2 separate regions of the Homo sapiens genome follow, and region 2 is linked to region 1. The links are contacts of gene promoters, found by promoter capture Hi-C in blood cells and fetal thymus (Javierre and others, 2016). All regions are on one chromosome and are shown on one strand. Each heading gives the region's core, a stretch centred on a gene start or on the middle of the fragment in contact. The rest is flanking DNA. Distances are from core to core; before and after follow the strand shown. Region 1 holds the start of IPO8 (importin 8). Region 2 overlaps ALG10 (ALG10 alpha-1,2-glucosyltransferase).

Region 1 (4,190 bases), core at 390-2,889:
CCTCAGCTGTGTTTTGCCCACATCATCATCTTTATTAAATGTAATTAGAACCCTCTCTTCTGGGTTAACCTCAGGAAGAACCAGCTCCTTGATATTTTCATGCCATTGAAATTGTGGCGCCAGATATGGCCACAGTGGATAGAAACAGTATAACTTTTCTGCTTACCTTTCACTACATTTTTGAGAAGGTCTGAAAATTTTTCATAAAACTCTCAGGGATGTAGTTTTCAGTTTCTGTGACCTTTGTCTTTCTGAAATGGGAGAGGTTCCCTTGTCCCCCTCACAGGGCGTGCATTGGGGGTGTGGCTCGCTTCTTCAGTGCCCCGCTGCTCAGACCTCTAGAGAAGCATACAGACCGGCAGGCTGTGGGGCTCCGACCCCTTGACAGAGTCTGGGGGTGAATGTTTACAGCTCCTGAAGCCCCAGTGGGTGTGTGTTACAGGATGCTCTTTCAGTTTGCCTTTAGGGGGCTTGTGTTAACCAGCTCAATTAGACCCTCTACCTTGTCGCACAGACAGCGAGCTTTCTGTATCCTGGGTTCTTGCCTTGGTGTACCAGAAGAATTGGATCACACGTGGGCTTGGAGAATGAGTGCAAAGTTTTATTGAGTGGAAGTAGCCCTCAGCAGATGAGGGACCCAGAAGGGAAATGGTTTTCCTCTGGAGTTAGGCCGCTTGGCGGCCCGGGCTCTTTTCCGACTGCCCAGGCCAACCTCCGCATCGTTCTGCCCGTGAATGGCCTGCGGATGTGCCAGCGAGCTCCTCTTCTTCCACCCTTATGCTCCTCTGGACGTCTGGCTGCCTGTGTACCTGCCTGCTAGGGTCTGGGGTTTTCATAGGCACAGTATGGGGGAGTGGCAGGCCAGGGTGGTCTTGGGAAATGCAACATTTGGGCTGGAAGGCAGGAGTGTCAGTCCTCACCTAGGTCGGTGGGCGTGGAGCCCTAGCAAGGGACCACACACTCCTCTACCCAGCACTTCACTTCGCCCATCCCTATCATTTAAAGGGACCACGCTCTTCCCTTCCCAGCACTCCCCTATCATTTCTACACTGTAAATTTTTTTTGTTTATATTTGTCTCATCTATCAGGTTGTGAATTCCTTCACATTAACTTGCATGGAATTCATCTTGTTATAATGTGGTACCTAAAAATCCTAGTACTCTGGTTCAAAAATATATGTTTAACAAATGTTCAGTGAAAGCGAATGAATGAATGAACGATGACTCCCACACACGGAGGAACCCTGTCCTCCTGTAAGGTACATGATTTGAAGGTCCCAACAAGTCTATCTTGGAACAGGCCCAGTTGCGATGCCCATACAGTTCTCGGACTAACAAAAAGTGTCACACCATCCAGATATGCTTAATTTGGAAGCAGCTGTAAGCAGACTCCCGGCCAGCTCAAGTTTCCTCACCTGGGAAGAGGCGGGAGGCTGTTTACCGTACGGAAGCATAGCGGCCGCCTGCCTGAGTTCGGGAGCGCGGGTTCCTTTCCGGGAAAGAAGCCTAGGCCGTTTTCCGTACAGCAGCATGGCGGCCGCCGACGGGAGGCGGTCATAGCATCACGCCCGGGGGAAGAGGCCGCCGTAAAGGAAGCTCTGCTTCCTCTTCTTCCTTCTCCCGCCTCCCACCGGCTGTCGTAAAACGGTGAATGGAGAGCGAGTTGTGGGGGGGAAAAAGGGAGGACAGGGGGCGCGGAGTCAGAGTGGCGCAGCAAGTGGCCGCAGGTGGCGACGGTGGCGGGGGGTGGGGTGTGAGGTAATCCAGGGGTCGCGGAAGAGGAGGCTGAGAGGGTCAAAAGAAAACTAAAGCTGCAGTCCGGCCTACTGTTCCGGGGGCCGCGGAGCCCCCACCCGGGGAGATGGACCTCAACCGGATCATCCAGGCGCTGAAGGGCACCATCGACCCGAAGTTGCGGATTGCAGCCGAGAACGAGCTCAACCAGGTGAGGAGAGGGTCTTCGGCGACCCTCTTCCGCCGAAGGGGCGCCCCTGCCGGCTGGCCGGGCTCCCTCTCCCCGGCGCCCCTCGTCCTCACCCCCACCGGGCTGGGGCTGACGCCTCACGGCTGGTCCCGCTCTCCGACCCCGCTGCCCCCCGGTCCAGTGGAGCAGGGCTCCCAGGATCTTTGCCGAACAGCTCGCGCACCTGTTGGCCACCTTTGCACCTTTTCGTGTCGTCTCCCTTCTCCAGGGCAGTTTGTTCTGCCTACTTGGTCCGCAAGAAGCAGTTTTTGCAACCTGTGCTAGTGTTTTCAGGGTGTGATTTATTTTCCTTAAGTGCGCGGACTTGGGGAGCAGGTGGGAATTTTACTTACAGTTCAAATCTGAGTTCAGCTTTTTTCCAAACCCAGCCCTTTTTAGGTGTTGCTGTGGAGCACGCTGCCCACCGCCTCCTCCTGTCGGGTTGGCAGGACTGTTTTGACACCGATTGGCCGAGTTTTGCGGAGCGCTGGGCAGTGCTGTTGGGAGAGTGCTCTGGGAAGAATAGGCAGTTTTCATGGTGATACTGCTTTATCTAAGACACATCAAAGTAAGATGTGTTGGAGAAATTTCTTATGAATGCTAAAATGTGTAAGACTTCTTTCTTTTCTCCGTCTCCTGTTCTTCCTAATTAGCCTTGACGTCTTTCCAGCGTTACCCCCACACTTCAAAATTTTAATGATCCCAAACTCCAGCTTATTTCTTCTTCCCTACCGGTACTTAAGAATCACAGACCTCTTACTAAAAAGTAGGGATTAAGAGCTACCACTGGGATGGAGCAACAGCTGTTTTAGGTTGTGATGACTTGTAAAATGTAAATATTCCAAAATCAGCTGTTCTCAAAGCGTTGCCCAGGACCTGGAGCTTCAGCATCACCTGAGAACTTACAAATTATGCAAATTACGGGGCTTCAGTCCAGACTTAACGAATCAGAAACTGTGGGGGTGGGACCAGTTGTATTTTAACTAGCTCCCCCAGGTGATTCTGTGCCTCCCGAAGTGTGACTGAAGTGTGACTGTCCTAAGTAAATGTTTCTGTTGGAATTGACTTTAAAAAGCTGCGTGTTGGGAATCTTTGAAAGGGATTATTTTAATAGGAAACCTAGGTGGAGTTTGGAGTAGGTATAAATGCAGGATTCCCCAGAGATAAAAGGGAGAGTGAAGACACTGCCAATGGAGAGGAGGTTGGGTTGAACTAATGCCCAAAGATAATGCACTGGTGCCTGAAAAAGAAATGGACTGTCACTTAGAATAGGGGGAAGTTAAAGTCAGTACCTGTCCCAGGCTTTGCAGAGTAAAAGTACTGTATGTTGGCTGGCTGGAAGAATAGTAATCCAGGGGTTAGTTAGGAAGAACAAAGCAGGAGCTGAATTTGCAGTCTACTAATATGAACAGGGGAGTTGGCCTGTTTATGACCCCCTTCTCACAATGAGGCCAGGTGTTCCTTTGATATCAGGTTACACTTCCCTGCCCTTCACCTAACCTTCATTTCTTTCTGATTCATCAGTATATAAGTACAGTTGATGTTATAGAAGTGGAAAAAGTATATGAGAAAGCCTGCAGAACTAGGAGACATTTAAGACCCAATCCTATTTTTTTTCCCATGGTATTTCAGACAAAAGCAGGCACGTTCAGGGTGGTATGGCCGTAGACTCTTGATGGTAGTTCAATCCAAATCCATTCCATCATCACTCTGCCCTGCCCCATAGTGTCCCACCTCATCACAGACCGTGGTTTCCCCAGCAATTTCTAAAGGTAGCTTATTGCTATACCACTCATTTAGCATTTATAATTTATATAAAGCATAGTGAAATGCTTTAAGGTTTTTTGAATTGGCTGTAAATAGAACAAAATATAATGTCACCTAACAGTGTAGTAAAACATGCTTATGATGATGGGTTTTGCCTGCTTGTCCTTTGCCACCACTGTAACATCCGACTTTGTTGGATAAATGAGTGGGTAAATCACCATAAGTGGTTATGGTCCACCTCTTCGACTTTAGTCTAGGTCTCCCCTCAGCAAGTATGTTCTGCATAGGGAATGGGAGCAGCTTCTGCGGTATACTGATGGATCTGTCAATTGCCGTTTAGAAAAATAAGCAGCTTCTGCACCACAGCCTATATTCCAATGGATAAATTCTCATTTGGAGCTATATATTTTTTTCAGGCCAGCATTTTTCTGTTACTAGTGAGTAGTTTTCTGACTGCTATT
Region 2 (3,683 bases), core at 647-3,146, 3.3 Mb before region 1:
AATGGCCATCTTTGAACTGCCTAGAAAATTTAACCAAGACATTTATCTTAAATTCAAAAGTATTGATAAGCATTCCTGTTTTAAAATAATAAACAGTTGAAAATAGCACCTTTTAATACATGGCATTCTTTTCTTAAAATCCCAAGTACTATATGTATTTTATTAAAAATGTGGAAGATTAATCTGTTTCTCTCTGAATGTAGATTTTCACCAAAACATCTCTTAAAACAGCAGGGACTCAACACTTAAAAATGAACTAGAAGAGCTGGGCACAGTGGCTCACGCCTGTAATCCCAGCACTTTGGGAGGCCGAGACGGGTGTACTACCTGAGGTCAGGAGTTCGAGACCAGCCTAGCCAACATGGTGAAATCCCGTCTCTACTAAAAATAGGAAAAATTAGCCGGGCGTGGTGGCAGGTGCCTATAATCCCAGCTACTCGGGAGGCTGAGGCAGGAGAATTGCTTGAACCCGGGAGGTGGAGGTTTCAGTGAGCCGAGATCAAGCCATTGCACTCCAGCCTGGGGGACAAGAGTGAGACTTCTCCTCAAAAAAAAAAAAAAAAAAAAAAAAAAAAATCTAGAACAGTGATCCCTCCAAAGAGCAGTCTTCTTTAATTACAGGGTAGAATATTTTCCTCAATTTTGCCAGACTAGATCAGAGTGGAAGCTTCTCCTCTCAGAAGTATTCCTAAATACAAAATCCTTGCATTAATATTATCAGACAAAAAGTTATTTTCCCTAAATTATACATTCTTTTTTCAATTTTGACTTCTCGGATTTAGTTCTCTATTATAGTAAATTAATGACAAAAGTATAATTTCTCTGAGTGTCCTCTCTCGTCTAATTTTTAAAAAGTCTGGGTAAAACACGTTTTTCTACAATCACTGTTATAACTAATGCAACTCTATTTTCTGAGTACTAGAGTACAACCAAAAAACGGTCTGTATTTATCATTCAAATTATACTTGTGATTTTCACCTACACACAATTTTATATTTGTAAATGTAGAATCATTACTTAAAACTCAGAGAAACAAAATTTGACATTGAGGGGAAAGTAATTTGTTCACTTATAGCTACTTTTAAAGTTTGGAAACATAAAATTATGTTAAAAGAAGTGTTCTATTCATAATTCTAAGTTTACATGTCAAATTTAACATGCCCAAATAATACTTTCCTATAATGGAATGACAACCCAAAAAATACACTCAAAATAATAAACACAAAATTCAAAAAGTAACACAAAATAATCCTACCCCAGCAGTTGTTCCCTAATCTACAAAATAAGGTCAGACCAAATGATTTCTTAACTTTCAATTCTGACATTTTTTTAAATAGATAATGGAATCAAACACTAGTCACCTTTAGCTTTATATTACCTCAGAAGTCACTTACTTTTTAACCTCTCAGTAAAGATACTGAGAGTTATTTAAAAGGTATCGGCTAAGATATTATCTCCTGATCCAACAATCCCACTTCTGGGCATTTATCCAGAAGACTTGAAATCCGTATGTCAAAGAGAAGTCTGCACTCCACGTTCACTGCAGACAAGTCACAATTATCAAGTTATTCAATCAACCTAAATGTCCATCAATGGATGCATGGATAAAGAAAATGTGGCATATATACACAATAAAATACTATTTGGCCTTTAAAAAGGTAGAAATTGTGTCATTTGCAACAATATGGATGAACCTGGAGGACATTATGGTAAGTGAAATAAGCCAAGCACAGAAAGACAAATACCACATGATCTCACTTATTTGTGTAATCTAAAACAATTAAACTCACAGAAGTAGAGAGAAGAATGATGGTTGCTAGAGGCCGGGGATGTGGGAATGGGGAGATGATAATCAAAAGATACAAAGCCTCAATTAGATAGAAGGAGCATGTTTGACTTTTTTTAGATCTATTACACAACATGGTGAATACAGCTAATAATTAAGCACTGTACATTTCAATACTGCTGAGAGTAAATTTCAAATGTTTTCATCACAAAATATGTCAAATATTTGAGGTGATGGATAGATTAGCTTTATTTAATCCCACATTATATTCAAAAATCATAATGCCACTTTGTTTCTCATAAGTATATACAACTATAATTTGATATATAATAAAAAAAATCTAAAAAGGTAGTCTCCTAACAATCATATGAAGACTATCCTAAAATGTCCTTTAGTAACTGTCATGGACTGAAAAGTATCCCACGAAGAGACAATGTCTACTCAGATCATGTGAATACAAACTTACTTGGAACATGGGTCTTTGTAAACATAATTAAGGGTCTCCAGACACAATCACCCTAGATCAGGGTGGGCCCTACATTCAAAGACACTGTCCTTAAAAGGTAATGAAGAGAAGACAGAGGGAAAGGCCGTGTGAACACAGAGGCAGAGACTGGAGTGAAGATTGCTGTCTGCAATACTTGGACAAGATTTGTCCAGAAGCCAAAGAACTCCAAGAATTGCACACAGCCACAAGATATTAGGAAACAGACATAGAATGTCTGTTTATGGATTCTTCCTTAGAGCCTCCAGAAGGAACCAACTCTGCTGACACTTTGATTTTAGACTTCTGGCCTCCAGACTGTGAGGAAAATTGTTGTAAGCACCCAAGTTTGTCGTCATTTGTTATGGAAGCCCTGGGAAGCTAATACAATATGTATTTCAGAAAGGAAATCCCCCTTTTAAAGGATTATAATCAATACAATTTGTCTTTGGCCATCATACATTTCATATTAGGAATTAGTGAAAGAGCTTCATCATTTCTAGATTGTAAACAATAACCAACAATTTGATGTCTAGACAGGCATATATGAGTCTCTACTTTATCATTTACTATCTATGCATTTGTATTTTGACTTAGAATTAAAATTATATTACTGAAATGTTAAGCAACTTTTCAATCAAGAATATCACCTGACCATTTGTAAATATTTGCTAATACATTGTTATTAGGTTGGTAAAAAAGTAATTGTGGTTTTGCCATTACTTTCAATGGCAAAAACCACAATTACTTTTGCACTAACCTAATATTTCTCTCTGAAGAGAATAAATTCATTCCAGTAATATGAAGCATACCCAGTTTTAATAAACTTGTACATACAAAACATTCCCAAGCTTTTTAAGGGGCCAACATTATGAGAGTGATATGAGATATCTGAAAACAATTTTATTTTTCCATTTTTCAGGCTTTTGAAGCAGGTCTTAAGCTTTCTCAGTTCTTTGCCACTTAATTTCTTACATATGTTTAAAATATATATAAAAAAAACTAATGTAATTTGAAGACCACCACTGCACCTAAAAGAAATTCCATGTTTTCCACCTATTCAGTTGTTCTTTGTAGAAATGGTCTAATTATTAAGTCCATTTTCACAGTTCGAAATATCACTGATATTACCACATAAACCTTTGAATGTCCTGACTATTTGGCCACTGAAAAGTCTTGTTCAGAAAGATGAAAAAAGTTATGAAATTAACAACTGCATAGCAGCTCAGTTCACAAATGAGTCTGGATGTGGGAGGCAGAGGTATGTTAAGCCTATAAATGACATAAGGTAAAATGAAGTAACGAAATTCCAGCAGTTTCTGAGGAACTATAACAGTGAACAAGCATATGAAAAACATTAAATTCCAAAAAATTGACTTTGATTTCAATGAGTCAGCTATACTCCAACCAGCA

The links. The method cuts DNA at HindIII sites, captures the fragments that hold promoters and counts their contacts. A CHiCAGO score of 5 or more calls a contact.
Region 2: a fragment that was not itself captured here is called in contact with the fragment with the promoter of IPO8 in region 1 in 3 of 17 cell types (non-activated CD4 T cells, total B cells and activated CD4 T cells); the score reaches 8.7 in non-activated CD4 T cells.

What each region holds. Positions count from the first base shown.
Region 1 is chr12:30,693,318-30,697,507 of GRCh38, reverse strand. It overlaps IPO8 (importin 8), which reads left to right and starts at 1,639. Exons shown (of 25, transcript NM_006390.4): 1 at 1,639-1,944. The coding sequence starts at 1,861. RefSeq lists an enhancer at 1,250-1,749 and a silencer at 1,840-1,889. The HindIII fragment of the contact is 4,530 bases long and covers 1-4,190 here.
Region 2 is chr12:34,026,630-34,030,312 of GRCh38, reverse strand. It overlaps ALG10 (ALG10 alpha-1,2-glucosyltransferase), which reads right to left. Exons shown (of 3, transcript NM_032834.4): 3 at 2,011-3,683. The coding sequence ends at 3,398. Among named protein-coding and RNA genes, the nearest start is that of ALG10, 6.0 kb to the right of the region's middle. The HindIII fragment of the contact is 2,454 bases long and covers 670-3,123 here.